Regions from separate parts of the Homo sapiens genome. Here region 1 is linked to region 2. Evidence: promoter capture Hi-C in 16 types of primary human blood cells and fetal thymus (Javierre and others, 2016). All regions are on one chromosome and are shown on one strand. The core of a region is centred on a gene start or on the middle of the fragment in contact, and the rest is flanking DNA. Distances in the headings are between cores, read along the strand shown. Region 1 overlaps LMTK2 (lemur tyrosine kinase 2). Region 2 holds the start of SLC25A13 (solute carrier family 25 member 13).

Region 1 (2,700 bases), core at 43-2,542, 1.8 Mb after region 2:
AAGAAAAAGTAGACATGTTTTTCTAGGTTATTTAGGGTCTGTCCTACATGGGAAGTAAGGAGCAGACATTTAGGCCACTTCTCCCATCTTTCAGCTGTATTGTGCAGAAGTTGGATTGACGAAGTGTTGTGAATCTAGTACTGCCATTGACTCGCCTGCACATCTCTGCAGACGTACATGGGAAGTTGTGTGACAAAACAGAATATCCTTCCCCTAGACGTTGGTGGTCCACTGCAGGGATGGTTGTGGGGTTGAGCCCTGGGAATCTGGCTCTGAGTCTCTCCTTCTGGGACTAGATGCTTCCCGTTCCTGCATCGGCTTCCGGAGTGTGGAACCACCATTCAAAGCTGTTAAAGACATGGAAGTGCCGTGGATGACGCCATAGCTCAGCTCTGCCAGCAACTTAACCAAGGTTCCAGTTCCGGAATATCCAGCCTTTCATTTCTTGGGGTGTGGGGGCCCAGTCATCTGGCAGAAGTCATTCAAGCCCGACATTCTTTTGGCCACACCGTGCTGCCTTAGATGAGCTTTTCTGTAGTAGTCTCCATCCTAGTTAGTGTTTTAAAATGGGAATGAAATGGCACTTTGATAACAAATTTTAGTGGAATAGTCTGAGAGAAACCAGCAGCTTCGTATAAAATGATCTCATTCACAGGTATTTAATTAGCACTCAAATTATATAACCTTTCTGCAAGTGTGAGGGAGCAGTTGGGCTGGCTGACCTTGAAAATCACTTTTGAACAGAGGAACTCTTCCCTGTCTGTGATTAGCACACAGAGCGATCTGTTTCTCTAGGCTGTTGAGATTCTGGCTTAGGGTCTTTGTGGTATCTCTGATTCATGAACGAGATCATCAGTGCACTCTTTACTGTTGTGTGTGACTGAGTATATTTACTGCCACGCTTCATTTCCCTTTTCCTTTCCTATATTAGAATACCTGAGGGAGATTCTAGGTTATTTAATGTTCTTATAAATAGATATATTGTTATATTATGGCAAAGAAAACACTTTGTGACTTAAAATTCTGTGTACAGGAAACCTTGATGATAGATGGGTTTGTAAGTTTGAGGCGTTAAATAAAAATGTGTGATCTGCAATAATTGTTCAGATTTTTTTCCCCAAGTAGTGTGATGATGATTCATTTTATTAAGTCTCTGGGCTGCAGTGCTACTTGTCAGGGTGTTAGAAGAGGAAGACAGGCTTAGTGGTCCTAACGTGCTAGGAGAAAAAGGCCCAAACGATGTGTTTTAGAGATGGGCTTTATGTTGGGCCCATTTGGAAGGTTGCTGGCCCTTAGCTTCCCTCAGTTCTATGAGTTTTCTTTGTCTAACCTTTGTCTAAGTAGCCACCATTGTTAATTTTCAAGTAGGCACAGAATTCTCCTATGCAAATTCCCTGAGGCAAGAGGGTCTGGGCAAAACAGAAAACAGGCGAGATGTGTAAGGACCTGGCCCTTGCTTTACACTTGCTTTTCCAGTTAGAAGGCAGGATGCCCTCATGCCTGTGTCTGTGCTGTCAAGGATGGACCCCTGCCAGTGGGATTGGCTTTCTTCAATTAATGCATGGACCAAGTATATGTTAAAATAACTAAAGGAGTGGAATTGGAGTGTTGCTAACACAAAGAAATGATCGATGCCTGAGGTGACGGACACCCCAAATACCCTGATGTGGTTATTACACTTTGTATGCCTGTATCAGAGCGTCACACATACGCCATAAATATATACACCTATTTGTACACTTAAAAATAAAAAATTAAGGCTGGGCATGGTGGCTCATGCCTGTAATCCCAGCACTTTGGGAGGCCAAGGTGGGTGGATCACCTAAGATCAGGAGTTTGAGATTAGCCTGGCCAAGATGGCGAAACCCCGTCTCTACTAAAAAATACAAAAATTAGCTGGGTGCGGTAGCAGGTGCCTATAATACCAGCTACTTGGGAGGCTGAGGCAGGAGAATCGCTTGAACCCGGGAGGTGGAGGTTGCAGTGAGCCAAGATCGCGCCACTGTGCTCCAGCCTGGGAGACAGAGCAAGACTCCATCTCTAAATAAATAAATAAGTAAATAAATAATTAAAAAGGTGAAAAGATTAGTAAATTGACACAGTGCTAGGGGCTGAGTTTTACCCCTCCATGTACCTCAAACTATAACTGTATTTGGAGATAGGCCTTTTAAACAGGTGAGTCCTGAGGGCGGGCCGTAGTCCATTCTCACTGTTGTCCTTGTAAAATGGGGAACTTTAGACACACACAGAGACACCAGGGATGCACACGGAAGAAAGCCCCTTTGAGAATGCAGGGAGAAGGCTGCTGTCCACAGGCCAAGGAGAGAGGCCTCAGGAGAAACCAGCCCTGCCGACACCTAGTCCTCTAGGACTGTGAGAAAGTCAAGTTCTGCTGTTGAAACCCCCAGCCTGTAGTATTTTGTTTTAGCAGCCCTAGCAAACTGATACGCGCAGTGTTCAGACTAAAACAAATTTAAATCACATCTTAGATGGCACCAATTAAGATTCCTGTTTTGTTCCTAAACACACGTTGGCATAGAGGTCCGAGGGCTGTGGCTCTGCCCGTGTGTGGGGCTTTCTTCTGAGTCCTGTGCTCCAGGGGCTCCCTGGGGAAGAGGCTGCCTTTGGATTCTCGCTTTGCCTGCACTGAGTAGAATGCACTGATGGCCTCCAGTAAGATGAGGCTGTGCGAGAACATGG
Region 2 (2,700 bases), core at 58-2,557:
ACTTAAGTCATAGAACAGCATTTAAATATATTTGTCTGCTTACAATTTCCATTGCAAATGTGATTAGTTTGCTTGAATAAATAGGAATATGATGTGTTGGCCATGTTTTCCTCTTGAGGGTTATCACAGAGTTTTGATTAAGGACAAATGTTTGAAATGTTAGGTATATTTAAGTTCACTGCACTTAAAATGAGCTAAGAAGTTGTATAGGCTTGATTAGAGGGCTGCCTTCGTGAACTTAAATTAAAAGCAATAAATTCCAAATGATTCAAGTGATTGGGACTAAATATGGTATTCTGCCAGAGAAGTTGAAATGCAGTCCAAAGAGACTGAAATGGTGTCCAGGTTTCAAGAAATGGTGAAAGAGGAAAGGTCAAGTGTTGGAGTTGCCTTTCCTCTGGGTTAGTGAATGATTCACATTACACAGAACCCCTTTCAAGTACAACTTCACAGGAGTGACAGGCTCCCAGGACAATCTGTTTCATCGTTCCCAAAAAGAAGCCTCTCAAATGCTCCGAGGCGGGTATCTAAGTGTTGTCAGATGGAGAGAGGGAGGGGGAAGATGGGAATGATGGGAAAGCGGGGAGGGGGAGAGTCCCTGGACTTTTTATTCACAAAGGCGCAGACCAAGTCTCCTAGGCAGTTTCCAAAACGGAAGTCAAAGTAACTTCCCCACCCGCGGGAGGGCGGAGCCCTTGAAACGTAATAGGATCAGGCTTCAGCCCGGGCTCTGGCCCCTGGAAGAAGCCGGAGTCAACAACCAGCGGGGTCAGGAGCAGGAGCGCGCTGGGAAGGTAGAGAGGACCCCCAGCGCTTGCCGGCCCAGGGTGCACCAGGCCCCAGTCGCGCCCGCTCCTCCTCGTCGGCCCTGGCTCAGCCCCGTCAGGCACCAACTTCCCTCCCCGGCCAAGTGGGAGTGTCCGGCCCACAAAGTTTCCGCTGCGAGGTCGGGCCTCGGTCTCTGCACCGACCGCCTGTGCTGCCCGGGAGGAGTGGCCCCCTCCCTCCAGCAGCCGCAAGGTGGAACGGCTGCCCGGCACCCCATTTTGCTCCGCCTGTGGCACCAACCCAGACACGTGAGCGCCCGAGCCTCTCGCACCCCCAGGCTGATCCGGCAGGCGCGCTCCCCCCGGCCTCGGGCCCGCGGTTACCTTGGCGGCCGCCATGATTCGCCCCGGTTGCGGGCGACTGCGGGACCCACTGACTGGCTGGCTGGCGTTTGGGACCCGGGCGGCTCACTTCTAGTCCCGGCGGCGGCGGCGGTGGGGGCGGCGATACGGCCAGGCAGCGTGCGTTCCTGGCCTGCCTCCCCACGCCCTCCCGCCGGCGCGGGTCATGTGGATGCTGCCCGCCCATTGGCTGGGCCCAGCCTTGGCCGCCGGGGTGCGCGTGATCCAGCGGCCTCTGCCCTGCAGCCGGGGAGGGCTCAGATCCTGGGGCAGTGGCTGGACAGGGACACGTGACCCCGCTGCGCTGTCCAGCAGCGGCGGCCTCTGCGGCGTGGGCAGAGGTAACTTGGCCGTGTGCAAGCCCGTCACCTGAGGGCAGGTGGCCCCACCAGGGAAGCTGCTGGCTTCTGCTGATACCAGGGGCTACTGGGCCCTCGGACCGATGGGAGGGGCAAGTAACGACAGATGGTGCACGGCCTGGGGAAGTTGAGAACTCCACTAGGACACATACTTTGCTGGATATTTTTTCCCCTGTGCGTTCCCTTTGAAGGAGCTCCACTTTACACTGGATCCAAAAAGACTTTGATCCAAAAGCATTGACTTAGAAGGCGAGATTGCAAATATTGCTGGCACGCCTACTTTTAGATCAAAATCGGTGAACTCTTAAGAACCCAACAAGTGAATGTAGTGCAGAACGTATATTCATGAAACTACTCCATTTCAGCCCTACCTGTTAAAACGGTAGAAGTCAAAAGGCCCGGGTCAAAAGACTTCCCCCAAATAGGCCCTACTAAAATAAATAAACAAGCATTTTAATGAAAATTTGCTTATATGACCTCCAGGCCTTACTCCTCTTCATCAGGATTTCATTCTTCTGTCCTTGTAATCAAAATTTATAAGACAGTGGTGATCAGGGAAAAGGACTTTTAATGTATTGTAGGTTGTGGATGTAATATGGCAGCAAAAAGCACTTATTACTAATCAGTTTAATTCATTAACGTTGATTGAGTGCCTTCCTACTATGTGCTAGGCACTGTGCTTGGTGCTGGAAACCCCGAAATGACTTAAGAACTGGTTCCAACCGTTAAACAGCTTCAGGGCTATTGGGAAAGAGACACATAAATGTTTACTTCAGTATAACCTGTTAAGGCAGCAGACTGTTCCCAGGGCTCAATAAGAATACTGAGAATTCTCATGCCACTATGAAGAAATACCTGAGACTGGGTAATTTATAAACCAAAAGATTTAATTGACTCAGTTTCGCATGGTTTGGGAGACCTCAGGAAACTTACAGTTGTGGTGGAAGGCACCTCTTTACAGGGTTGCAGGAGAGAGAATGAGTGCCAAGCAAAGGGGGGAAAGCCCCTTGTAAAACCATCAGATCTCATAAGAACTCACTATCACAAGAACAGCATGGGAGTAACCGCCCCCATGATTCCGTTGTCTCTCACCGGGTCCTTCCCATGACATGTGGGGATTATGGGAACTACAATTTAAGATGAGATTTGGGTAGTGACACGGTCAAACCATA

What was found. The method cuts DNA at HindIII sites, captures the fragments that hold promoters and counts their contacts. A CHiCAGO score of 5 or more calls a contact.
Region 1: a contact is called between a fragment that was not itself captured here and the fragment with the promoter of SLC25A13 in region 2, in 3 of 17 cell types (neutrophils, monocytes and M2 macrophages). The highest score is 9.1, in neutrophils.

The regions. Positions count from the first base shown.
Region 1 is chr7:98,126,103-98,128,802 of GRCh38, forward strand. All of the region lies in intron 1 of LMTK2 (lemur tyrosine kinase 2), which reads left to right. Among named protein-coding and RNA genes, the nearest start is that of LMTK2, 21 kb to the left of the region's middle. The HindIII fragment of the contact is 7,179 bases long and covers 1-2,700 here.
Region 2 is chr7:96,320,791-96,323,490 of GRCh38, forward strand. SLC25A13 (solute carrier family 25 member 13) reads right to left here and starts at 1,308. Exons shown (of 18, transcript NM_014251.3): 1 at 1,152-1,308. The coding sequence starts at 1,166. RefSeq lists a silencer at 1,104-1,443. The HindIII fragment of the contact is 9,010 bases long and covers 1-2,700 here.